Linked DNA regions of Homo sapiens: region 2 is linked to region 1. Evidence: promoter capture Hi-C in 16 types of primary human blood cells and fetal thymus (Javierre and others, 2016). All regions are on one chromosome and are shown on one strand. Each heading gives the region's core, a stretch centred on a gene start or on the middle of the fragment in contact. The rest is flanking DNA. Distances are from core to core; before and after follow the strand shown.

Region 1 (6,188 bases), core at 2,638-5,137:
CAAAACAGCTGCCGCTGCCACCTCCACTCCCCTCGCCCCTAGGCTGAGGATGGGAGACCTGTAATCTACCTGTCTCAAAGCTTCCTCAGGTGTCTCCACCCAGAGGCCCTTGCCTAGCAAACCGGCTAGGCAGCTTTGACTAAGCTACTCACCCCAGGAGTGAAGGAAGGAAAGAACTAGTTGAGTGTTTTTAGGGGGCCCTAGTTCTTGACACAGGCAGATGCCAGCTTGAGCCCAAGCAGCTTTAAGTTTTGATCTAAGACAAGCTAGAACTGTCCACTGCTAACCAACCTCCTGTAGAATGAAGTCACACCATTGCCGACTCTGCACCATTCCTCCTTCCCAGGCAGTTCGCCTGAAATGGCAACCTGACTTTGGGCCCCTTGCACCTCTTCTCTCACTCCAGGAACACTGAGACTAAGATCTACACCAACCTGCTTCCACTTTATTCTTGTTTACACATTCTCCTGCTCCCAGATTTGGAGTCAGAACACTATGTGAGCTCAACAGTCCTGCTCAGAGCCATGTTCCATATCCCACCAGTTTCCCTTTTCCCAACCCCCACCCACCCCCACTCAGTAAGTCCCCTTGCCCAGGTTTTGCTCTTGGAGGGAAGAAAGCAGAAGAAAAGATGCAGGACTGAGATGATTGTCCTGACCCCGCTACCCCCAAGTGTAAGAGAAGTCCTGGATGGAATGGGTGGTGATTCCAATGAGGGATGGGAACCTCTTTCCAAGGCACAAGGGGCCATCTTCTCAACATGCTGCTTTTTCAGATTTGGGTAGTATGTTGGCCAGGAGCTGGGGGCTGAAGCGCCTCCAGCTGACTGAGGAGGAGAGGAATGTGAGGACGCTGATGCGGGTCCACGGTCATCATCGAGTTCAGGAGCTGCCGCAATGCTGAAGAATGCCTGTGGAGGGAGGAGCCCAGGGTGACCGGATGACACCTATCTGTCAACTCAGCTAATACCAGGGGGGAGTCTGAAACACTTGATGCCCTATTCGTTGCTCACTCACCTGGGGCTTTGTGGGATGCTGAGTTGGTTCTGCACAGCAAGGGCCACACTGTCACCCTTTTGGAACACCATGTCATAAGGGCCTTCCCCAAACATCATGGCATATAGCACGCAGCCTAGGGACTGAGCATAACTTGATTAGTCCCTAGAAGGGGACCAGTGGAGGTGACATCTCTCCCTTTACTTCTGTGGTAAAAGGAGACTCCATAAGCTAAAAAGAATACGCTGACCTCAGCCACATGGCACCACCAGGGTCCAGAGAAACTGCCAGTCAGCTGGAGGCCTCCGCAGCCCCTGTTTAGCTTAGCCCCTGCTTAGCCAGTGCCTTCACTACTGACACTGAGCTGTACTCACCTTGTTCAGGGGCACAGATTATACCACATCCGGTACAACTGGGTACAGTATCAGTGACATTTCCCAGGAAGGAAGTTGAAGTGGATGGGGACATATTGTGGTTCCTGGCGCCCCATGCAACAGAAACCAACAACCTACTCTACTCCACGGTGGGTACAGAGCCACAGCCCTCCCTACCCAGATACCCACCCACATGCTCCTCACCCAGACATCAGTCCGCTCATCGATGACACAGTGACTCTGCACAGAGAAGAGCTCTGGGGCTCGGTAGGAGATGGTGCACCGCTGGGCTGCCCAGTCCTGGAACAGTGATCCCAGAGCTCAAAAGTGGGGCACAGGTCATGGTCATGTGACCAAACTGGGACATGCACCAGAAGGGGTGGGAATGGGGAACAGGTGAGAAAAGGAACCTGGAGACTCTTTTACCTGCAGGGTCAGAGCCTGGCGGGAGCCCTCCACATGGATGCATGCTTGATTCATGGAACCCAAGTCCATTAAAACTGGCTGCCCCTCATCTCCAAGCAATATATTGGTGGGCTTCAAGTCTCTGTAGAGAAGTAGAAGTGACCTATGAGCATCTCTGGACAGGAAGGCTGGAATCCCAGCAAGCAAAAGAATCATACAGGCTGTTTCTTGGGAGAACAGAGACCTCCCATGTCTCCTGGTGAGGCTCTTCCTCTGGGCCCCAGCAAGCACACAGGGTCCTCCCACTGACCTGTGGGCATAACCCTTGGCATGAATGGCCTCAAGGCCTCTGCAGATCCCCAGCAGCAGCCAAAGGATTTGATCCTCGGTCAGGAAGTTGCCTTTGTCCTTCAGCCTTTCTATCTCATTCCACAGCGTACCTCTCTGCAACACAAGTTTCCCTACAGTTGGAGATGTTTTTGGAGCCTCTGCTCCTTAGGCCTGATCCCTTCCCTATGTCAAAGCCTATCAGCCCTTTCATGATACACACCTCAAACTCAAAATCTAAAGTGGCCAAACCCAGGACATGGTCCCTGCTTCCTAACATGCTGGACTGCTCACACAGCCCTTGAGTAGGTGGCTCTGCTGCAACCCCCTCCATAACCAGGAGTCTTTCTGACCTTGAAGAATGGTAGCAGCAGCCAGGCCTCATGCTTAGCACCCCGTTCCCTCAGACAGTAAGCCACGAGGCGAAGGATGTTGGGGTGATTGAAGAGGCGATGCATGTCGGCTTCTCGCTGGGCCTCCTCCCGGTCCTGCTGCTCGTGACACAGGATTCGCTTCAGGGCGTAGAAGTGTCCATCATGTAACCCTTCCACTAGGTCCACATAGCTGAACCCACTGTGGGCCAAAGGGGTCAATAAAGGGCCATGGTCATCTCCCACATGGCTTGGACCTAGAGAAATTTCCTGGTGGGGAGTGGGGTGTCCTTCCCATTTAGCAGAAACCTTCCCAAGATGTGGCTCTAAGAGAAATCTGAAGAATATTACACCGTGAGCTCCTCAGGAGCAGAGATATAGAAATCTTTGAGGTCCTATGGTCGTAATAGAGACCTCTGCACTTGACAGATGCTAAATAAATAATAGCCAACACTTATCAAGTACTTGTCAACCCCGCATTGGGTGAGACATTTTATACACATTATCTCATTTAATCCTCACAACTCCATCAGTGAGGGATAATAATCATCTCCATTAAGCTGATGAAAAAAACATGGTTTATCAAGGTCACACGAGGTGGATTTAGCAGGCCTGGCTCCAGAATCCACCTTCTTGATACTGTGTAGCTAGGTTCTGTCAGGTGAGAGAGGACAGGGATAGGGATAAAACCCTTGTGCCCCAAGCATATGCACACCGCTGTCCTTCAATGATCATAAACTTGAGGACTAGTTAACTGACTTCCAAACACTCACCCCTCCCCCAGTTTCTGGATGAAGAGGTAGCGCTTATTGTCAATGATGACAGTTCCCCGAGAGCAGACACACAGCGCGTGGCCCATAATGTCTCAGTCATCCTCTTCAAGGACGGTCTGAGGCTACCGAAGAGCTCGTCCAGGGTGAGTGGGCTCTTCCAGGAGATGCGCTGGGGGCCCAGCGGATCATGCTGGAAAGAAAACAACGGCAGGGTCACAGGTCCGGCACAATCCAGACGACCCATGAAGTACCAATGCGGAGAGCTCAGGCCCAGGTCTCTGGAACCTACACTATAGTGTAGAGAAAACAGGCCCTGCTCCGTCGCCAGCTTCAGGGGTGGGGTCAGGCGCCTTACGGCCTCAGGACACACAGCGGCTACCGGGCCACTTCCTCCAACCCCAGCCCATCTTTGGGCAGCCCCCGCTCCCACGCCCATCGCGCCGCAAAAGCAGAGCATAGCGTAGTTTCAGAGGACGTGCGAGGCTCAGGCCCACTCCTGGCAGGGCCCACCCCGGTCTAGGAGCCCAGAGCCCGGGATGGGCCATCTGCACTGCCGGACTGACCTGGCTCGGGCCAGAGAGAAGCGCCACCGACCGGAAGCAGTGCTGACATCATCAGTCCGCGCCGGCGTAACGGCCCGCGGTATCTCAGCAACCGCTGGGCATCCGGAGGATGTGGGGACGCGGAGCTGAGAGGCTCCGGGCTAGCTAGGTGTAGGGGTGGACGGGTCCCAGGACCCTGGTGAGGGTTCTCTACTTGGCCTTCGGTGGGGGTCAAGACGCAGGCACCTACGCCAAAGGGGAGCAAAGCCGGGCTCGGCCCGAGGCCCCCAGGACCTCCATCTCCCAATGTTGGAGGTAGGAGGCTTCATACCTCTGGCGCTCTGGGGCAGAAAGCGGCCAACTACACTGCAGCCTGGAGGGGGATCCAGTGAGGGGCGGGTCTGGTGGCCTGGTCTCCTGATCCCGTACAACCTTCTGGGCTCTGGCCTGTATCCCACTACCCCTAGTCTCAGTGGTTAAGAGCTCAGGCTTGTGAACCAGACTTCCAGTTTCTAAATTGAGTGTTAATAGCATGCTAGCTGTGTAACCTCGGGCAAGTTACTTAACCTCTCGGATCCTTACTTTTGGTAGCTGTAAAATAGGTATAATAGTACATAAGGTTAAGTAGCTTAACTGTGAGGCCAGACTGACTAGTTCAAATGACAGCTCCGTTAACGTAGTTGTGTGACCTTGGACAGGCTACTTAATGTTTCTGTCCTTTCCTCTCCTCCTCTGTAAAATGGAAATAATTATCTACCTCATGGAGTTGAAGATTAAATGAGATGTACAGTGTTTAATACAATATCTGACACATAGCCTTCAGTACGTGTCAATAAACCGTAATTATTATTACCCTGATCTTCACATCCCATTCTTGAGACTGTAAAGGCAAAAGGAACGGAAATTCACAGATTTTCGAGCTTTGGCACAAAGCAGTTGTCCTTAATATCTGTTGCGGAGGCAGGCAGGGGTAAGCTGGAGAGGGGTGCACTTCCAAAGAAGGTGGAATGGCCAGGAGGGAATGGCTGTTTTGCTGAAACAGGACTCTCCAGGAAAGAGGTCCTTCTTGTGACCTGGTTCCTCCCTTCCACACCCCGGATCACCCTGAAGATTTTCCAATGGTTTCCCCTGGTTCTGAACCTGTTTTAGCCTTTTGGTTATGACATTGATTCATCCAGATTTAACCTACTATATACCCGGCCCTGTGCTAGAGGCTGAGGATTTGAGATGAACAGGGCACTCCCTGTCCTCAGGGAGCCCAGTCAAGTAAAGCCATGCTTCTCAATTTTGAAGGTGCCTAGGATCACCTGGGAATCTTGTTAAAATACAAATTCTGATTCTATAGGTCTGAGGTAGGATCTGAGATTTTACATTTCTTTTGTTTGTTTGTTTGTGTTTTTTGAGACAGAGTCTCGCTCTGTTGCCCAGGCTGGAGTGCAGTGGCAGGATCTCGGTTCACTGCAACCTCCGCCTTCCGGGTTCAAGCAATTCTCCTGCCTCAGCCCCTACCCCCACCCCCACCCCCACCCCCACCCCCACCCTCGGAGTAGCTTGGAATACAGGCGCGTGCCACCAGGCCCGGCTAATTTTTGTATTTTTAGTAGAGACAGGGTTTTGCCCTGTTGGCCAAGCTGGTCTTGAACTCCTGACCTCAAGTGATCCACCCGCCTCGGCCTCCCAAAGTGTTGGGATTACAGGCGTGAGCCATCGTGCCCAGCCAGATTCTCCATTTCTAACAAGTTCCCAGGTGATGTCGATGAAGCTGGTTCGTGAACTGCACTTTAACATGATGTAGAAATTTTACAAACTAGTAGAGTAAGGGGGTGGCTGCAGGCTGGAGAGGAAGTCCAGGCTAAACGCCTGGCAACTTGAGGTGGTTTCCGCCCCCTTGCTCGCTGAGGTTCCCTCCCAGGAATCCGACACGTGACGGTCTGTCCGCCGTCTCAGACTAGAGGAGCGCTGTAAACGCCATGGCTCCCAAGAAGCTGTCCTGCCTTCGTTCCCTGCTGCTGCCGCTCAGCCTGACGCTACTGCTGCCCCAGGTAAGATGAGACGGTGAACCAGCCTGCCGGGTGCGGTGAGCGGGATCAGATCCAGCGGATGAGAGAAAGTCCAAAGTAACAACCAAACAACCCGCAGGGCTAGTTCCATCTCTTCCGCTCTTGGCAGGCGCTGACCCTCGACGCTCCCTCCAGGCGTCTGCTGAGCAGCGTCTCTTTCTCTTTATAGGCAGACACTCGGTCGTTCGTAGTGGATAGGGGTCATGACCGGTTTCTCCTAGACGGGGCCCCGTTCCGCTATGTGTCTGGCAGCCTGCACTACTTTCGGGTACCGCGGGTGCTTTGGGCCGACCGGCTTTTGAAGATGCGATGGAGCGGCCTCAACGCCATACAGTTGTAAG
Region 2 (6,188 bases), core at 995-3,494, 100 kb before region 1:
GCACCTGCACACTCAGCTCATTTATTTTGTTTTGTTAATTTTCAGTGTTCATTGGGTAGTCAGCTCATTCAATCCTCATAAGTGGGAGCACAAGGGAAAATATCAAGCCCCTCCACTATGGAATACAGAGAAATTACAAGAGAGTCCTTTAGTATACAGGCTCAATGATGCCACCAATATATGTCCTCTCCCCTGCCGCTTTGCTTGTAAGGACATCGATAAATATGATGCTCAACTAGTCATATTTATTTATACCTATTTTTATTAGCTAGGTTGACCCTTACCACCCACTTTACTTTTCCCCATCAAACATTTTACTTTCTTTTATGCAACCCACATTTGTAAAGATTTGTGCTTTACTGTGCCTGGCCTCTGCAATACATAGTTCCTGCCTCAAGGCAATTGAAGGCTAGGCAGGGAAGGAAGACATACATACGACGTACTTGTGCAACAGATATTGAACACCTGTGCAGCAGACCAGGCAGGTGCCCTGCCTCATATCCAATGGCCCATCTCTGAGGTTACCTGCAGCAAGCACGTGGACAACGTCTGTGTGCTGACAGCTTCCCACCTCGAAACCTGGAAACACTCTGATTCTCGTCCTGCGGGTTTTCTGGAACACCAGGAGAACTTGCACACCTGTGCACCAGACAGCCCTGAAGTGCCTGGGACTTAACACCCTCAGGGGCAATCATCAACACTTTAAAGGCTGAGTTAGCTGGGCGTGGTGGCTCACGCCTGTAATCTCAGCACTTTGGGAGGCTGAGGCAGGTGGATCACCTGAGGTCAGAAGTTCAAGACCAGCCTGGCCAACATGGCGAAACCCCATCTCTAAAACTACAAAAATTATCTGGACATGGTGGTGGGAGCCTGTAATCCCAGCTACTTGGGAGGCTGAGGCACGAGAATCTCTTGAAACTGGGAGGCAGAGGATGCAGTGAGCCAAGATCGTGCCATTGCACTCCAGCCTGGGCAACAAAGCAAGACTCTGTCTCAAAAAAAAAAAAAAAAAAAAAAAAAAGGCTGTGTTACTGGATAAATATTCCAATGTATCCTCCCCTCGGTGGGATAAATTTGAGACAACTTCCACAGGGATCCTCGGGAATCCCCAGCAGGGTCAATTCCCAATTGCCCACAGCAACAACCTGCTCACCAACATTCTGTGTATTGGCTTTTCTCCTTTCCTTCTCTCACTTTCCCCTTCCTTCACTTGTGCTTGCAGGGATGACCTGCCACCTAGACCACCTGCACCCGATCCTCTTTTCAAGGTTCCTTTTGGGTGAATCCAAACTAAGATGATCTATTATGTTTTGGGCTCAGTCCTAGGCACTAGGGATATAGTGGTGAACAAGACAAAGTCCTTGCTTCCATGAGCTTGGAGCTATTTAACGACGCTATAACCCACAGGAAAAAGTCCAGGCTTCTTATATGGTCCACATGGCCCTCAGTCTCCTGCCAGCCTCTCCTGTCTCATTTAAAGGCATTCTCCTTTCTGCCTGTGTGGATGCTTCAGCAATTCAGCCCCCACTCGTGTTTCTCAAATTGGGCCTTGCTAGTTCACACTGCTCAGCCCTTATACACACAGTACTCTCTACCCCCAAGTACCCACCAACACACCTTATCCATCTTATCCTAAAAATATGAGCTTAATATCCCCTTTTCTATTGTGCCTTCTCTGACCTTCCAATCATTTCTCCCGAGTTCATCACACTCTTCTCCATGCAAACTCAATGTTTAACTTTATACCTTGTAAGTAGGTATACCTTGCTTTTCCTTGGGGTCACTGTATATGACTGACTCATCTCTGTGTCATGGGTACCTAGCATAGTACCTAGGTACAGCCCAGGTACTCAACACATATTTATGGAGTAGAGTTAAATAAATATAGTGGAGAAAAAGAGCTACAGCTGGAAGACTGTACTGCGCCATCCATGAAATTGGTGAATTCTGTCCTTACAAATGGACCTCTCCACTCTGACAGTCTGTGACCCTTGATTGTACATGCAACTGGGTGATATGGGAAGGTCCCAGCACGGAAGAAACTTTTTGAGCTGGCCCTGGAGGTCTGGGGTGGATTTCAGTAGGAGGTGATAAAGTATGGACAATAGCATACAAGACAAAGAAGTTGGAAAGCAGGAAGATTAGTGGGTGAACGAGTAATTCTGGAACAGCTGGAGGTAAGTCTGGAAAAGTAGGTTTGGGCTTGATGATGGAGGGCCAAGTTTATAATTTAGGTCTCATTATTTTTTTTTTTTTTTGAGACAGAGTCTCGCTCTGTCGCCCAGGCTGGAGTGCAGTGGCGCGATCTCGACTCACTGCAAGCTCCGCCTCCCGGGTTCACGCCATTCTCCTGCCTCAGTCTCCTGAGTAGCTGGGACTACAGATGCTCGCCACCATGCCCGGCTAATTTTATATATATATATATATTTAGTAGAGACAGGGTTTCACTGTGTTAGCCAGGATGGTCTCGATCTCCTGACCTTGTGATCCGCCCGCCTCGGCCTCCCAAAGTGCTGGGATTACAGGCGTGAGCCACTGTGCCCGGCCTAGGTCTCATTTTTAAGAGGCCATGGGGAGCACTGACATTTTGTAGTCAAAGAAATAACATATTTGAAGGATGAATGCAGGAGGCGAGAGGGGGGGAAATATATGAAAAGGAGGTAGCCAATTAGAACAGTGATATGATGACTTACATATGCTCTAAGGGCCTGAAATTGGGCAGAGATGGAGCAAATGGAAAGGAGACACCTTTGAGAGTTGTGCTGAAGAGTGAGTTGAGAGGCCTTGGCAACTGTCTGGGTGTTGGGAGCAGGCCCCCCAAAATCTGGCCATAAACTGGCCCCAAAACTGGCCATAAACAAAATCTCTGCAGCACTGTAACATGTTCATAATGGCCCTAATGCCCAAGCTGGAAGGTTGTGGGTTTATGGGAATGAGGGCAAGGAACACCTGGCCCGCCCGGGGTGGAAAACCACTTAAAGGCATTCTTAAGCCACAAGCAATAGCATGAACGATCTGTGCCTTAGGGACATGCTCCTGCTGCAGTTAACCAGCCCAACCTATTCCTTTAATTCAGCCCATCCCTTCATTTCCCATAAAAGATACTTTTAGTTAATTTAATATCTATAGAAACAATGCTAATGACTGGTTTGCTGTTAATAAATATGTGGGTAAATCTCTGTTCGGGGCTCTCAGCTCTGAAGGCTGTGAGACCCCTGATTTCCCACTTCACACCTCTATATTTCTGTGTGTGTGTGTTTAATTCCTCTAGCGCCACTGGGTTAGGGTCTCCCCAACCCACCTGGTCTTAGCATCTGGGTTTCAGTGAAGAGATAAAGAGAGAAGCCACCTAAATTTAGAGAACTATTGCCTGGGAAAATAATCACGCTACTTACAGAAAAAGGGGTGACTGGAGGAGGAAGGATTTGAGAAAGAAATTTGGTTTACTCCTAAGAATTAAAGCCAGAGGCCGGCTCAGTGGCTCACGCCAGTAATCCCAGTGACTCAGGAAGCCAAGGTAGAAGGATTGCCTGAGGCCAGGCATTCAAGATCAGCCTAGACAATATAGTAAGACCCCCATATATACGAAAAATTTTTTAAATAGCCGGGTGTGGTAGCCTCTGCCTGTAGTCCCAGCTACTTGGGAGACGGAGGTGGGAGGATCCCTCAAGCCCAGGAGTTCGAGGTTATAGTGAGCTATGATCATGCTACTGCACTCCAGCCTGGGTGACAGAGCAGGACCCCATTTCTAGGGGGAAAAAGTAAAAAGAAGAAAGAAAGAAAGAGAGAGAGAGAAAGAGAGAGAGAGAGAGAAAGAGAGAAAGGAAGGGAAGGGAAGAAGGAGAAAGGAGAAAGGAGGGGGAAAGGAGGGGAGGGGGCGGGGGAGTGAGAGAGGGGCAAGCCAGAGGCCTATTCAGGATCATCACTCTAGAAATTCTCTCCTCTCTTGGCCGGGTGCAGTGGCTCACGCCTATAATCCCAGCACTTTAGGAGGCCGAGGCGGGTAGATCACCTGAGGTCAGGAGTTTGAGACCAGCCTGACCAACATGGTGAAACCCTGTCTCTACTAAAAATACAAAAATTAGCCGGGCATGGTGGCGGGCACCTGTAATCCCAGCTACTTGGGAGGCTGAGGCAAGAGAACTGCTTGAACCTGGGAGGCGGGGGTTGCAATGAGCTAAGATCGTGCCATTGCACTCCAGCCTGGGCAACACAGCGAGACTGTATCTCAAAAAAAAAAAAAAAGAAGAAGAAAGAAATTATCTCCTCTCTTTTCTTTATCATTTTCTCCTCATTTCTAGACACCTCCCATAAACATACAAACATCCTGGAATAGCTCCAATATTAAAAACAGAAGAACAACAGAAAACTTGATTTCTGCTCCTGGCAATGGTAGACTTGATAATTTAAACAAATCTTGCTGAAGACACCTTGTCTTAGTTTGTGTTTAGCCCCCAACTTCCCCCAAGAGTTCAACAATTGGGCTTAAATGCAGGTACCTTATTTTTGGCTATGATCCTAAAGAACAGGTGTTGGTCGGGGGAGTGAGAAATTAAAACTGGAAAGTAGGGAAAATCAATTTAAGCATGTGTAATTGAACTACTTACCACTGTGGACAACTAAGATTCAAGCTCACTGGCAAATCTTGAGGAGCCAAGGAGAATATGCCTGTGATTTTTTTGCCTAAGACTGAGGGGAGGGCAGTGCTTATTGACCAGCTTCTGTCCCTGATTAGTCAAGGATAGCCCAAGTCAAGGAAATCTGTATATAGAGGAGGTTTGTTCATGCATTAGGATGGCTGAGTAGATTCTTGCAGGCACCCGTCACCGCAGGGACAGATAAGTTTTAGGACAGAAAGCTAGGGATTGGCTGCACAGCAGAGGCAAGTTGCTCTTATTCTACATCTGCTGCCATCTGGCTTCTACAACAATGGCTGGAGTAAAGAGATGGGCTGGGAGGATGTGAGGTGGAGCACAAGCCGTGTCTAACATACAACTAAAAATTAGGGATGAGAATCTAAAGCGTGCCTTCTTAATGCACCAAGGAACTATCAAGATAATGAGAAATTAATGGGGCCAGTCAGCATCCAGGAGGGGACAGAATCCAGAGGGATAAGAAAGCTTGCTGACTGGGTAGAAGCAGCTGAGAGGCTGAGCTGGAATTCTGCCAGCCTTGTGGGACTAGAGAATCAAATGTGGAAATTCACAGCCTGTGAAGAGGAAGTTCTCTGGTTTAAAACAAACAAAAAACAACAAGAACAAAAAGCTTCTTCATTTTCTCTTAGGACTGCAGAGTTACACCCGAGAAGGGCGAAACAGAGGTACACTAGCTCTTGTTCATAAAGCAGTCAAGCTTCAACTCATCTGAGGAATCCTAAAATTACATTAAGGCGATTTTAGATTGGTAGTGCAGGTAGGTCTCAAATTATTTCTGCTTTTTTTTTGTTTTGTTTTGTTTTTGGTCAAACAGTGTGTCCAGCACACAAAGATAAACAGTCACAAGAGGAAATGAGACAATTTGAGTGAGAAACAGTAAAAATAATAGAAAACAAAAATAGTACCACAGTGTCGCCAGATACAGATGAAAAAACACGGCTTACTCTGCTCATAGCGATAAAGGACAAATTTGAAAATATTGTCAGAACTAAAAACCATTAGAAATTTCAAAACTAATTTGGAAAAGAACCAAAGAAAAATTCTAGAATTTAAAAATCTAGGCCTGGCATGGTGGCTCACACCTGTAATCCCAGCACTTTGGGAGGCCGAGATGGGCGGATCACCAGGTCAGGAGATTGAGACCATCCTGACTAACACGGTGAGACCCCGTCTCTACTAAAAATACAAAAAATTAGCTGGGTATTGTGGTGGGCACCTATAGTCCCAGGTACTTGGGAGGCTGAGGCTGGAGAATGGCAAGAACCTGGGAGGCGGAGCTTGCAGTGAGCCGAGACTGCCACTGCCCTCCAGCCTGGGCGACAGAGCGAGACTCTGTCTCAAAAAAAATAAAATAAAAAAATAAAAAATAAAAATAAAATAAAAAAATTCCATTACCCCAGTTAAAAAATTCATGGGATAGGATTAATAACAGATTAAAACAGTGGAATAGATAATTCATTCATAAACTGGAGTACAAATAAGAAGAAAATACTGGATGAAGGCTGTTGAAAATGCAAAAGTGAGGGTAAGAAC

The links. Contacts are between HindIII fragments. The CHiCAGO score rates a contact against its expected background, and 5 or more counts as called.
Region 2: a contact is called between a fragment that was not itself captured here and the fragment with the promoter of GLB1L in region 1, in 2 of 17 cell types (M1 macrophages and M2 macrophages). The highest score is 6.3, in M1 macrophages.

The regions. Positions count from the first base shown.
Region 1 is chr2:219,243,143-219,249,330 of GRCh38, reverse strand. It overlaps GLB1L (galactosidase beta 1 like), which reads left to right and starts at 3,887. Exons shown (of 17, transcript NM_001286423.2): 1 at 3,887-4,102; 2 at 5,688-5,829; 3 at 6,017-6,183. The coding sequence starts at 5,758. STK16 (serine/threonine kinase 16) reads right to left here and starts at 3,852. Exons shown (of 8, transcript NM_001330213.2): 1 at 3,535-3,852; 2 at 3,246-3,435; 3 at 2,455-2,674; 4 at 2,085-2,218; 5 at 1,796-1,916; 6 at 1,574-1,669; 7 at 1,017-1,138; 8 at 1-910. The coding sequence starts at 3,331. The coding sequence ends at 772. RefSeq lists enhancers at 3,711-4,140, 3,589-4,171. The HindIII fragment of the contact is 6,920 bases long and covers 83-6,188 here.
Region 2 is chr2:219,343,928-219,350,115 of GRCh38, reverse strand. No RefSeq gene overlaps it. Among named protein-coding and RNA genes, the nearest start is that of RESP18, 14 kb to the right of the region's middle. The HindIII fragment of the contact is 5,757 bases long and covers 1-5,122 here.